Linked DNA regions of Homo sapiens: regions 1, 2, 4 and 5 are each linked to region 3. The links are contacts of gene promoters, found by promoter capture Hi-C in human tissues and cell types (Jung and others, 2019). All regions are on one chromosome and are shown on one strand. Each heading gives the region's core, a stretch centred on a gene start or on the middle of the fragment in contact. The rest is flanking DNA. Distances are from core to core; before and after follow the strand shown. Region 1 has its middle 170 kb from the start of TSL. Region 2 has its middle 150 kb from the start of TSL. Region 3 holds the start of EVX1 (even-skipped homeobox 1). Region 4 has its middle 180 kb from the start of EVX1-AS. Region 5 has its middle 130 kb from the start of TSL.

Region 1 (2,700 bases), core at 88-2,587, 200 kb before region 3:
GATTAGATTAAAAGGGTATGATCTAATAGTAATAGATGGAGAGGGGGAACCCAGCAAGACCTGTCTGTTCAAATCCTTCTTGGCCTCTCTGTGTAGCATTCCTTCCTTGAGGATTGGGCAAGATCCTTCTGGGATGAGAGTCTTCAAGGAAGAAGGGAAGAGGGAGAGTGATCATCCTAGGTTTTATGGCTTGCTTTGGGGAGAGGAGTTCTAGGTTCTATGACTCACTTTGGGGAAGAGAAATTCTGGCTCCTATGACTCACTTCCAGGGGTAAAGATTTGGCACATCTCTCAACTGGTGAATGGATAAATGAAATGTGATATACCCATATGATGAGATGCTATTCAGCAATAAAAAGAAAGAAATACTGATACATTCTATAATCCATAAAACCTTGAAAAGCCTTATGCTATGTGAAAGAAACCAGTCACAAAAGACCACATATTATATGATTCCTTTTACATGAAAGGTACAGAACAGGCAAATCCATAGAGACAGAAAATGGGGGATGAGGAGTTAAGGGGGACAGCTAAGGGGTGTGAGGTTTCTTTGGGAGGTAATAAAAATGTTTCTAAAGTTGATTGTGGTGATGGATGCACGCCTCTGTAAATACACTAAAAGCCACTGAATTGTACACTTTAAGTGTGCGAATTGTATGGTCTGTGAATTATATCTCAATAAAGCTGTTAAAAAATAGCTTTGTTTCCAAATGACAAAATCAATACACATTCTTTGTGGAAAACTTATAAAAGATTGAAAATATGAATGGATAAAGTAAAAGTCACCCATAATTCCACAGATAACAAGAGGTAACATTCTGGTGTCTATCAAGGACATGCTTTGGCTCTTCTGAAGCAAGGAGCAAATTCCTTTACAGTGCAAGAACCTTACTGGCTTTACTGGTCCCCCAAGATATGTGTTGGCATATGACATTGCTTTCACAAAGCCCTGATGCTGTAGAAATTAGTTCTGTCTCTGAGATGGCTCATAAACCATTTTTACTTTAGCAAGTGGGGTTGAAAGTGAGATCTCTTGAGGCCTTGGTGGATGGGGACAGCAAAGGTTGAGTTTGCATGGGAGGTAGAAAAATAGAAATGTCTGGAGCTTGGGAATCTGGGAAGTGTTATGGAAAGATGAACCCCTGGGAGAGAGGAAGAATAAATATAAGAGTGAAGTAGAAGGCTAGGGGCAGGGGCACATCTTTGAAAACAAGCCTTACCTATTTCACTGTTTTGCACATAGAGATAGTCCAAGATCTGACAAAAGAGGAGTGTTAATAATCATGTCTAAAAAACCTTCCTAGCATTAATATTACCACTAACAATAACCCTTTCTCCATTGAATAGTGTACCAGATTGTATTTTCCAGAAATCGCAATATCTATAAGGTTCTTCTATCCCATACGCTCTTTTTGCAAGATGCCTGGCACTTCTTCACCAAGAGATGGGAGTCTGTCTCCTCTCTTCAAATCTTGGTGTGACTACCCTGACCAATGGAATATGGTGGAAGCAATGCTATGTGACCTCTCATAGGATATAGCTCCCACTTGGCTCTTTCAGGACACTTGCCTTTGGAACCCAGCTACCATGTTTTAGGGAAGCCCAGGCCACATGGAGAAGCCACATGTGGGTGTTCTAATCCACAGTCCCAGTTAGACCTTCAGTCAACAGTCAGCATCAGTTGCCAGACATGTGAGTGAAGAGCCTTCACATGCTTCCAGTTCTGAAGCTTTGAGTTTTCCAGCCAAAACCATTAACAGTGAGAAGCAGAGACAAGAAATCCCTGCTGGGCCTGTCTGAATTCTTGACCCACAAAAACTGCAGAGGATAATAAATGATTGTCTAGTTTTGAGTCACCACATATATGGTAATTTTGTTACACAGCAATAGATAACTAATACAAATGGTGTTGACAGTTTCAAAAGTTTTTCACAGTAATCTGTTAGTTCAGGCAAGCACAATGAGGAAAGTTCTTTCCATTTTACAGATAAAGAAATTGAAAGGCAGAGACATGTCTCTGGTGTTTTTTATTGCATGTGTACATATGCTAAAAGTTTTAAACTGCATTATTTACTTTTCTCATTATTACTGTTAACTTGAGATTACTTATATTTTATTAGAAAGGGAAACTTTGATTCCCTTAAAAGGACTCATAAAAATAAAAAATAAGGCAAGAGTCAAGGAAGTCAGACAAATTGTTACTTCTTCTTCCTGAATTTGGTACCACTTATGCTCTAGTTTCCAACACTCAGTAACCTTAACGGTGAATCAGTTTTAGAACTATATGACCACCTGCAGAATCCCACCATCTTAAAGGATCTTAATCTAACAGATCTACCATCTCATGCCACGGTGTCTCAAGTTATATCTTAGGATATCTAAATTTCTGTAGATGATGGTAAAATATGCTGCTGAGTTTCACAGGATCCCTAATGAACCTTTGTGTTTGCTAACTGCTCCAGACACATGTGTTTCTTCTGCAACATTTTCCCTGTTGTCATACTAGGCTACCTATGGTAGGTAGCCTATGTTAGGTGAGTAAGGGTCTTAGTTATGAAAAACACTGACCAAATGATAAGGTACTCGCTCTGATTTGAGATTCAGTTAAGAACCATGACTTTTATGCTCAATCAGTATCTTGTACTTTTTTTTGAAAAAATAGCAAGTTATTTGTTAAGTCAGCTTCCAGATCCTTGACAG
Region 2 (2,700 bases), core at 158-2,657, 220 kb before region 3:
AGGGAGGAGAGGGAAGCAGGATCGGGCAGTGGGAGGAGTCCAGCTGTGGTGTGGTCTCAATGGCAACCTTGGTAGATGCTAAGGAGAGTTCTGAAGCAGAACTTTTCAGAGTTGTCCCAGTTGGGGAACACGGGCCAGGACGTTATACCTCCATGGACCAGTCATTGGATGCAGCAGGCCACCCCGGGAAAGGGGGTGACCTTGGATGAAGCGGCTCCTCATTGGGCAAGGCAATCTCTGAGGGCTTCCTGCTGGCAGCAGTCCCTGCAGCTGTAGAGTGGCCCTTCATCCCTTAAGGGGCATGTGGGTGGTGCAGGCCTGTGGCACCCACCAGACCTGTGGATGCTGGTACAGTCTCGACACACCTCAGCGTAGAGAACAAATAGGGGTTGAGTAAGTAAGCAATTCAGGAAGACTCAGGTAATCTTTTGGTAATCTCAGGTAATGCGTTCTGTTTGTTACATGCCTACTCCCACTCCATCAGAATGGGTTAGGGATTGAATTAAAAAACAGTAAGATCACAGGCCCTGCCTGAAAGAAAGAAGCTTATAGTCCAATAGTGGCTACCAAAAGGTAAACAAACGGGGCAATATAATGAGAATCAGAAAACAGAGGGTTATGGAGTAAAAACACATTTTCAAAGAAGTCTTAGGGCATGACAAATGCTAAATAAAAAAAGAGGACACCAACTGTTTGTGTAAGCACTCATCTTCCAGCACACACTTTTGTTATGCTGGTGCCAAAAAATCCCTTGTAATTTGATTTTTAAACTAAGCAATTTTTTAAGTTGCCAGTCACCTAGAAACAATAAATGCACTGAACTTTTTCTCAGTCAAAGTTCCCCTTGTCTTTTTACAGCACTTATTTTTTTTCTTTTCTGAGTATGAAAGTTTTACAAATATATAGATGGAAAAAATACTGGAAAGAAATTCATCAAAATGTTAACAGTGCTTATAACCCCCAAGTAGTCAATTTATATGCATTTTTTTCTTTAAGTTTTTTTATTTCCCACATTTTCTACAAGTGTGAGTGACTTTTATAATCAAGGGAAATATACTTTTTAAATATAGTGTGAAAGTGTTGCGACAAAACTGTGTGAACACAGAAGATGAAAACACAGAGCAGCAGGTGAGGGAGAGCTTCCTGGAAGAAGTGTCACCCGCACCAAGCATTAAAGGTGAGCTGGGGCTGGGTGAGGAAAGGATGGAGCACATGGTGCTGCACTTGAAGGGCACAGGCAGAAAGAACAAAACGTGCCATGGCCCTAGAGTGTGAAGAAGCATGTTGGGTAAAAGGCTGAGAAACAGGGAGCCCTTGAGAGGGAAGAGATGAGGCTACAAGGGCAAGAAAGGGCAGAGGATGAAGGGCCTCCAGGGATTAGGGGTGCAGATCTGGAAGCCCACGTCACACCCTTGCACTCAACCTCTTCCAGCTTAAAAGGCTTCATGATTGAACAGGGTATTGATTAATGGATGCTGTTTTGTGGAACTAATTTAGAAGTAAAAACTGATTTAGAGTGAAAAGCTTCATGCTTGACATGAAGTTTCTCAGCCTAAGCAAGGTGACCTGACTCAGGCAGAGAAAGTGGTCTGTCAATGCGAGAGATGATATAGACATGACTACACACACACACCACCCCACACCCTTAAGACTCTAGAATCTACATTTTTTAAAGGAAGAAGAAAAGAACCAGCTCAGGTTCACTTTGCATACTTTAAAAGTAATAACCAAGATTTGCAGGTAGTCCTTATCCAGGGATCTGAACTCTCCGCAGGTCATTAACAATGTTAACTGTTAGCAGCCTGGGAATCCATTAAAAACACATGTCGGGGGCTGTGGCCATCTAATGCTGCAGGAATGCATTTGGCTGAGTACTGAACTCACCTTTGCAGACCTCAGAACCTCTCTGTCGTCCTGTGTGCCAGCTGGGCTGGGTTCGCTGAAGATGCCCTTAGGACTGTTTTATCTGGGGCACCCGCACTATTAGCACCCACACTCATTTCCTGTTCCTGCCTCAATTTTGTCTGTGTCTGGGAAGAACTAGTGGTCACTGCAGGCCACTGGTTTTTCTCCTAGCCCAGTCCTTCCATCCCTATCCCTATCCCTATCCCTGTCCCTGTCCCTGTCCCTGTCCCTGTCCCTGTCCCTGTCCCTGTCCCTATCCCTATCCCTATCCCTATCCCTGCACTGCCTCACTGCCTGCTTGGACTCTTACTGCATCCACTCAGGATCTGCAATCCGCTTCCACTTGCAACCTTGCTCCCCTCCTACTTGCTTCCCCCTGGCCACCTGGACAATCTCTGAAGCAGAGATGAAGGAGTCCTTTACTTGCTCAAAACTTGAATGACCCCCAGTTACCCGTGGCAGAGTCCAACTTCCCCACCATTTTTACATGCACCTCCCACATCCAAGGCCCTCCATGGTCTGGCCAGACCTTACCTCTGCAGAACCGTCTCCTACCATCCCCCATGGACTCCCTCCATGCCAGCTGGCCAGGAGCACCCTGTCCACAGAGCACAGACATTGCCGGTTGCCCCCGAGGACCCTGCTCACACTAAGCTATTAAGTAGGTGTAAAAGTAATGACAGTTTTGGTCATTTTTTTAAAAAAGTAATTGCAAAAACCACAATTACTTTTGCACCAACCTTTTGCAACTTTTTTTTGCCTTCTTCTCCGCCAGGATGTGGTGGAAAGGATAGG
Region 3 (2,700 bases), core at 43-2,542:
GTGGGACTAGGAAGGAAAGGGGAAGGGGGGAGGACCCGATCTCTGCCTTTTCAAATGCAACCGGAGACCAAAGGCAATTAGACCATTGGGACCATTTCCGACCTGGCGCCGCGAAGCCCGGGAAGTGACAAGGTAATTTGGACCTCTGACCGACGTGCAAACTGGTCGGAGGGCTGCAGCACCCGGGCTGCCCAAGTGGGCCGCAATTTTACGGTCCTTTATGGACTCCTGGCTTCCGCGCCTCCATGCCTCTTACACCCTGCCAGCCACAAACTGCCCGGATCGGCGTTTGATCTTGCCCTCGCCTGGGGAAAGTGTCTTCCCCGAGCAATTGAAGCATTCCCCGAGCAGTTGAAACACTGGGTGCTTGGGGTGAGCTTCGAATCCCCCAAGTCCAGGACTTGCATCCGCCCCCTCAGCACCCCGCACTCAAGGCACTGCTGTCACCCTCAGTCCCGCCAATGCCAGAACACAGTAGGAGACCCCCGCCAGAACGCAGATAGCAGAGAGAGTTGCTCAGGTGGGTCCCCCCAGCCATCCTGCCCTAGGGGAAGGGAGTGTCTTCCTCCTGGCCTGCGCCGAAGTGAAGGGTGGGCGCAGTGGGAGGCCCGGGGAGCGGAGGGGCACGGTGGCTACCTTTGCTGTGCTGGTACTCGGCGTTCCCGGTGGCGCAGTCCGGGGTGCAGCTCACCTCGATTTCTTCATAGAAATCCGACTCGGTGTCCGAGCTACTGGGTTGCCCCTGTCCGGAGAGGCTGTCGACTGAGGGGGCCGGGGGTCCTGGGCCGAGCATGGCCGCCCCAGCTACCTGGGGCTCGGCGCCCGGCCCCGCCGCGCTGCCTGCGAGTCCATCTACCGGCTCCTCCTCCGGGCCTCCCCCGCCGCGCTCCCGGGTGGCCGGAGGGACGGCCCGAGGGCTCAGGCAACCACGGGGCACCATTTTCTCGGGCGGCTCCGGCAGCGGGCTGCCCACGGCTTCGGACAAATTTGAGACTCTCTTGCCAACCAGAGTGCCAAGCTGACCCCCATCCAGAAACACAACCATGTCCTTTCGGCTCTCCATCCCGGGGCTCTCCGGTGGGGGAGGGGAAAGCCCCAAGTGAGTTCCTAACCCCGGCTCCCTGGGTCTCCAGCGGCCGGACGGATCTTGGTTGCAAGAGGGAGAAAGAAAGGCCGGGTGCCTGGGAGGGCGCGGAGCTGCTGGAGCGCGGTCTGGACCGCGACCGCGGCGGTGGCGGTGGGAGCTAGGGTCACCTTGTGAAGCGAGCGCTCCTCTGTGCCGCACCGCCTCTGGGAGGAAGCCCCATTGCCCTCTTCTTTCTAAGCTGTCATCCTCCTGCTGCAATCGTCATTACAGTACCGCTGGTGACGCCACTCGGCGAGCGCAAGTGGATAAATAGAAACGTCTGCCACAGCGAAGATGAAAGGAAACCCGCAGCTAATGGCTCGGCAGTGATGCGCCAGGTGTGGGCCTCGCTCGATTGGGGAGGAGAGTGTGAAAACAGACAGAGAGACACACACACTGAGAGAGGGAGACACCCAGGCAGAGGGGATGCAAATGGAATTCCGCAGAAAGAAAAGAGAGCTTAACGCGCGCGGCGAGTTCCGCAGGGGCAGCGGGACTCGGTAATTAAATAAGCTTTTGATTTTTTCTTTTATTGTTGTTTTGACTTTTGTTTTCTTAACTTGGTGCCTTGATCTAACACCGATGAAAGAATCCATAACTGCATTTTAGAAGTGTGAAGCCCGGCTTACAAGCCTCAATTCTGTCGGCATTATTACAACTGTCTGCCCCTGGCAGCTAACCTCAAACTGGCTGAAAAGTCTTTTTACAAGCTACGGAAAAATGTATTCCCCCGCCCCAAGTTGACTGGAGAGCTTGAGGCTGGGCCATCTTTTCCTCTTTTCTCCTCCCTCTCCCTACCCACCTCTGTCTCCTTACTCCTGCGAACCAAACTTTGCTATTTTTCTTCCCTAAGGGGCAAGAAATAAATACCTTATTATTATTTTTTAATTTAAAGACCCGCCTTGGCTTCTGTAAGAGTGTGTGCTGATTTCTTTTAAATACCTCCTTCCCATCTAGATGGCCTTAAGTTTTCCACAGCCTGGCTTCATCTTGAGATGGCTATTCGTACAAGAAGTCGCTTTCCCGTTTGCCTGGACCTCGCCTGCACTCCAGGTATGTTGGGTGGGGAGAGTTTCTAAGAGTTGTCTTTTTTTTTCCCTTGCCCATATTTTAAAGTATTCGTTCAGAATCAGCGAAGTCTCCTGGAAAGAGGTTTTTCGAATGAAGAGGCGCCAGGAATGCGGCCCCTGCTGTGGCAGTACTGGAGGCCCCTACTTGGGAGAAGGCAGTAGCTTTCACCGCGCTATTTTGGGCAGGGGTTCAGCCTCCCCGAGTACAAAAAGGTTGGGGTTCATAGAGGTTTGACTCATAAGGTCCTCTCCCAAGTCCCTGCCTAGGGGCAGTGGTACCTGTCTCCAAAAGTGGATGGCGTTTGAGGTAGAAGAGAGTGAAGTCGCTGAAAATGCCCTAAAACAGCAAGTAAGTAGGGACTCTGATGAAGGGCTGGAGGTGGGGGCAGGGGTTGTGGAACTTAATATCTGGAAGCTGCCATAGGCCTCTCTTGGCTCCTCTCCCAGGGAAGAAGCTGGTATAAAACTCCTTCAAACTGACCCTTTTTGAGCTCCAAGCAAGTG
Region 4 (2,700 bases), core at 40-2,539, 180 kb before region 3:
GCAAGGCACCTCCGGGACATGTGTAAACAAGATAAAACAAGGCCAGTTACTTCCTTAAGGAAATTAAAACTCCTAATTTGGAAAACTTTCTCCCTGAAGCTTTAAGTCTAGGTCAATATGACAAGTGCAATGAAGTACCCTACTTTCATCTCTTTGTCTATCTAATTTCTCCCTAGATCAATCCCCACCTCCTCTGGGAAGTTCTCCTTGATTATGTCAGCCTTCAGGAGTCTTCCTCTCCTCTCTGCACTTGACCATACTTTGCCATCACATGGCAAGTGCTATGTGTTCTGTGCGGTTTTCCTGGTCCCTTGCATGATCTCTGGCACATAAAAGTCCAGTATGTATTATTTAATGACTGCATGAAGTTTTATGACAAATATGTTGCATGTACCTCTGTGTGTGTGTGTGTGCGCGCGCGCGCGTGCGCGTGCACTTGGGAAATGGTGAGAGGCTGGGAGCAGTCCCACCCCCAACTTTAATTAATCAGTCAAGACAGGTGAAGTCTGAAGACCACAATGCCGTAGTCACAAAGTGACTGGGGACCACAAAACCATGTTGCTTCCTACACATTCCTGACAAAAGTAATCTTTGAAGTTCTGATGTTCCTTACCATCACAGCACTTGCAAATATTACAATCGCAGGCTAGCAAATGACCCAGTCTACTCAACTGACCACCCGACAGAAAGCGCAGTTACACTAGGCTCTGCCGGAGCCAGAAGCCGGCAAAGACTCCACTGCAGGGTCCAGCTGTCTTACACACACTTGCACAGGCACGCTGGCAGAGCACAGCCACATCAAACAGATGAGTGCTCCTCCATCTCCCTGCTTCTTACGTTCACATTTGGCCACTAATCATTAATTCATCCACAAGAGTTTACTGGGAAGCTACCATGTACCAGGCCCTAAACCAGGGACTGATGAGCACAAACAGCTCCTCTACGCCCACACTGGCAAACGTTCAGGTGTTCACAGCTTCTGGTCGGCTGACGATGACTCACCTTGCTTTCCAGAGCTGTTTTATTTTCTTCATTGTTAGTATATAGTAATGGTTATCGTAGATGGGGACGCTCTGTCTGAACTTGATCTATTCTCCTGCATGATTAGTGGACACTCTTTGTTGCTTGGTGGAGAAAAAGCAGCCACAAAAGTCATGTCCTCATTTTGGTCCTCAGTTTCTTTCCTTTTCTTTTTCTTTCTTTTTTTTTTTTTTTTTTTTTTTTTTTTTTTGAGACAGGGTCTGGCTCTATTGCCCAGGCTAGAGTACAGTGGTGCAATCACAGCTCACTGCAGCCTAGACCTCCTGGGCTCAATCTACCCTCCCATCTCAACCTCCTGAGTAGCTAGGACTACAGGTGTGTGCCACCGTGGCCAGCTAATTTTTGGGTGTTTTTTTTTTTTTTTTTTTTTGTAGAGATGGGGTTTTGCCATGTTGCCCAGACTGGTCTTAAATTCCTGGGCTCAAGTGATCCGCCAGCCTCGGCCTCCCAAACTCCTGGGATTACAAGTGTGACCCACCGTGCCCAGCCAGTCCTCAATTTATCTGTATTATGGCTGAGCACACCAGGTGGTCAACAAAGCCAGCACCTGGCAGCAAGAGTAGGCTAAACTCCTGCGCAGTCTTGATTCAGCAGTTTTGAAGCCATTCCTTGCAGTTCTTTGCTCAGGGGCCTCCCTCCAATCCACTCGGAGACTCACATTGAGTAGGATACAGAAATCACTGCACATGGCGCTCCTCCCCACTGAATGCTTCATTATAACCCAACAGGAAAGAAGTTTAAACTAAACAAATGCTCTCTTTCCTTTTCTTCCCCCACCCATCAGTCTCTGTCATCTTGATAGAGAAAATATGGCTGTTAATAGCCTGCAGTGGAACAAACATTTGCATGACTGTTACCTCAGAGCCCATAATTCTGAGCTAATTGGCTGATGGTGCTTAAAATGATTAAGTGATTGTAATTTATATGATTAACCAATTAAACCATCCTCCAGTGATTGGTTCAGGGTAGGCCTTGAGATGTGCGCTTGTCTCTCAGCATGAAGGCCAACGCCGCCGTACAGTATTAAATGTTCTTCCAAATGCTGAGTTGTTCCTCTGACCAGCAGGTAAAATCCTTTACACTGGGTGGTTAAATTTGATCATGTTCAGTGAATGGCTACCAAAAACTCAGTGACTGGCATAAAAGTGGGAGACAGGGCAATGATTCTTTAAGAATAACATAAAGGGACAAAGTGGCTGTGTTGTTTCCTAGAACCACGGTTGTTAGTTGAAAATAGCCCAATTCCATAAAAGTGAAAGACACAGTTAAGACTGAAAACTTGGGAACCATGTTGTTCCATTCCAGCCCTGGGCTGGGCCACTTAGCAGCTGTGTTGTGTGATCAGGTTATCGAACCCCTTGAAGCCTGTGGATTCCTCTCCTATGAAACAATACTCTTACTTACCTCTTAGGATTATTAGAAAGATCAAGTAAGGCTATGCATATTATAATCCCAATAAATATTAGTGGCCGTTATTGTTGTTCATTTTGTTATGACTCTATTGCTCCACTGGAATATAAGCTCCAAAGACATCCTCACTTTTCTATTCCTGGTGATCAGGAAGGCGCCTGGCACATAACAGGGACTCAAAAATATGTGTGGATGATTGAAATGATCATAGTGAACACAGAGCATTAAACTCACACTGGGCACTGTTCA
Region 5 (2,700 bases), core at 14-2,513, 240 kb before region 3:
TAAGTGAGACAATGCCCTTGACCGCCCAGCGGGGCCCAGCACACAGGGAACGCGTGGTGCAAGTGGGAGCTCGTTTGCACTCCAGAGTGGGAGGACGTGCAAGCTGGGACGTGGCTTCCACTGCAGTCCAGGGGTCAAGTAAAAATGATAAGATGCTTCTCATTAAAAGACAAAAATCTTTCTTTAGAAAAAGTCTTCATGTGGGGCAGAGTGTTCCTTCCAGACAAGCCATCTCTGAATCCAAGTATGAAGTGAGATTCAGACAGGACAGCCCGTACAGTCATCTGTAGGATTCGAGCCAGGTGAGTGTCCACCAGATGAAACCAGGCCCCGAAGAAATCCATGGGGCTGGATCCTAGCACCTGTTTAGATTCAGTGCCCTGCTGCTCTGGCCCAGGTCTTTATTTCCCTGGTTTCGCTGGCTCACCTGTGTGTACTTTTCTGGTAATTTTTGCTTGTGGGGGAAGACCAGGAAAAACTGATAGGCAATGAGATGGAATTTCTTTATTTATCCACAGTTTCAGTCAGGGGAACCCTGCACTCCACCACCCTCTACACAATAGGACTTAGAGACCTGTGCTTTAACTTGGCCTGGTTCAGGGTCTAATCACTGTCCTCTAGGTGGCCAGCCTCCAACAAGGGAACTGCCACTGTGCCAAGGAGGCCAGACTCAGTTCATCAGAGCAGGTAGATGTGGGAGGGGGTCCAGGGATATGGCTTCAAGGGGGTCACTAAGATCCCTGGCCCATTTGCAGATGGGCCACCAATGAAGATGAAGTGTGGTCTTGGAGGCCATGGAGGCTCCCGGAAGGCTGGAGGCTGGCCATCTCTGCTTGGCTCCTGGGGCACAGGCTAAGCTTCAATGGCACTGGGTGGCAATCAGATGGTGGGGCACACGGAGCTCCCTGCTGTGCAGCCTTTCTGTTTAGAACTGGAGAAGGGCAAGGCATGCTTTCTGAGGATCCCTCAAAGACCTCTGCTGCTGTCCAGTCAAGGCCTTCGCTTCCCAAGCATTTCCCAGGCTTCCTCACCTCTGCACCCTTAACGCCATCCTACTTTGCTAAAATATGCTAGTAAATGACATCCAGGTAAAGAAGAAATGGAGAATGCCATAGTCTAATAATTTGCCTCCTAAAATTCACACCCTTTTTGCCAGATGGCAGGAGTGAGAATGACCTTTGATGTGGATGGTTGGCAGACACCCAGCAAGAGACCCCTCCTCGCCCCCAGAGACTTCCCCATGGAGCTGCATCTCCCAGCAGAGGAAAGCCCAAGGTAATGTCTGTGCTGCAAGCCCACCTGTATGTGGATTATCCCTCTCCGTTTCCTCCACATCCCCAGAAATCTCAGCTTTACCATCATTAAAAATATACCTAAATATTAAATTCTAAATAATGTATTAGCATTATTTCGTCAACCCTAAAATGTGTCCTTGAATTGTATAGAACAGGTGTCCATTGCTGTGCATTTATTGTATTTGGATTTTTATTTCATTAATTTTACTAAATAATACATGCACAATGTCAAAGCTAAAAATGTCCAAAAGAGTATACAATGAGGATGAGGTGCCTCTCCTCCCATCCCTGCCCCACTCCCCAGGCCTTTGTTTCCCCTGCACATGGAGCAACCATTGTTTTTAGTTTTTTCTGTGTCGTTCCAGAGATAGTCTACATATATACCAGCATGTATGTATGTGTGTCTGTATGTTTGTTTGCTTGTGTGTGTGTGTATACACGGTATCCTTTTCAAAGTACAAGAGGTGGCACATTGTTAACATTGCTTTGTATATTGATTTTTTTCCATTCAACAGTATATCTTGAAGTTTGTTCAACATCACCATGTATAGATTGTGCCATAATTTAACCAGTCCCCTACTGATGGACAATTGTATTATTCCTAATTTTTTGAAATTATAAACAAACCGCAGAGAACATCCTCAAGCATACTTGTTTGGATGCAACACACATATCTGTGAGTTAAAAATCCTAGTATTATAAAATGCAAAACTATAAAACTCCTAGAAGGTAACAGAGGACAAGACCTAGATGACCTTTGATATGACAATGACTTTTTAGATACAATACCAAAGGCACAATCAATGCAAAAAAATTTTAATGCACTTCATTAAAATTAAAAAATTAGGCTGGGAGTGGTGGCTCGTGCCTGTAATCCCAGCACTTTGGGACACTGAGGCAGGTGGATCACCTGATGTCAGGAGTTTGAGACCAGCCTGGCTAACATGGCAAAACCCCGTCTCTACTAAAAATACAAAAATTAGCTGGCATGGTGGTACACACCTGTAATCCTTGCCACTCGGGAGACTGAGGCACTTGAATCGCTTGAACCTGGGAGGCAGAGGCTGCAGTGAGCCGAGATGGTGCCACTGCACTCTAGCCTGGGCAACAGAGAGAGACTCTGTCTCAAAAAAATAATAAAATTAAATTAAAAATTTCAACTCTGCAAAAGACATTTTCTTTTTTTCTTTTTCTTTCTTTCTTTCTTTTTTTTTTTTAAGATGGAGTATCATCCTGTCGCCTAGGCTGGAGTGCAATGGCACAATCTCGGCTCACTGCAACCTCCACCATCAGAGTTCAAGCAATTCTCTTGTCTCAGCCTCCTGAGTAGCTGGGATTACAGGCGCGCACCACCACGCCTGCCTAATTTTTTGTATCTTTAGTAGGGATGGGATTTCACTATGTT

What was found. The method cuts DNA at HindIII sites, captures the fragments that hold promoters and counts their contacts. A contact is called where the count stands out against the background at its distance.
Region 1: a fragment that was not itself captured here is called in contact with the fragment with the promoter of EVX1 in region 3 in 2 of the 25 tissues and cell types used here (IMR-90 fibroblasts and mesendoderm cells).
Region 2: a contact is called between a fragment that was not itself captured here and the fragment with the promoter of EVX1 in region 3, in 3 of the 25 tissues and cell types used here (IMR-90 fibroblasts, mesendoderm cells and thymus).
Region 4: a contact is called between a fragment that was not itself captured here and the fragment with the promoter of EVX1 in region 3, in 2 of the 25 tissues and cell types used here (heart left ventricle and mesendoderm cells).
Region 5: a fragment that was not itself captured here is called in contact with the fragment with the promoter of EVX1 in region 3 in 1 of the 25 tissues and cell types used here (spleen).

What each region holds. Positions count from the first base shown.
Region 1 is chr7:27,440,156-27,442,855 of GRCh38, reverse strand. No RefSeq gene overlaps it. Among named protein-coding and RNA genes, the nearest start is that of TSL, 170 kb to the left of the region's middle. The HindIII fragment of the contact is 5,895 bases long and covers 1-2,700 here.
Region 2 is chr7:27,466,075-27,468,774 of GRCh38, reverse strand. No RefSeq gene overlaps it. Among named protein-coding and RNA genes, the nearest start is that of TSL, 150 kb to the left of the region's middle. The HindIII fragment of the contact is 3,495 bases long and covers 1-2,700 here.
Region 3 is chr7:27,241,394-27,244,093 of GRCh38, reverse strand. It overlaps EVX1 (even-skipped homeobox 1), which reads right to left and starts at 1,292. Exons shown (of 3, transcript NM_001989.5): 1 at 637-1,292. The coding sequence starts at 1,063. It overlaps EVX1-AS (EVX1 antisense RNA), which reads left to right. Exons shown (of 4, transcript NR_120507.1): 2 at 2,084-2,179; 3 at 2,453-2,545; 4 at 2,644-2,665. RefSeq lists an enhancer at 797-1,674. The HindIII fragment of the contact is 9,702 bases long and covers 1-2,700 here.
Region 4 is chr7:27,421,745-27,424,444 of GRCh38, reverse strand. No RefSeq gene overlaps it. Among named protein-coding and RNA genes, the nearest start is that of EVX1-AS, 180 kb to the right of the region's middle. The HindIII fragment of the contact is 3,767 bases long and covers 1-2,700 here.
Region 5 is chr7:27,485,057-27,487,756 of GRCh38, reverse strand. No RefSeq gene overlaps it. Among named protein-coding and RNA genes, the nearest start is that of TSL, 130 kb to the left of the region's middle. The HindIII fragment of the contact is 3,114 bases long and covers 1-2,700 here.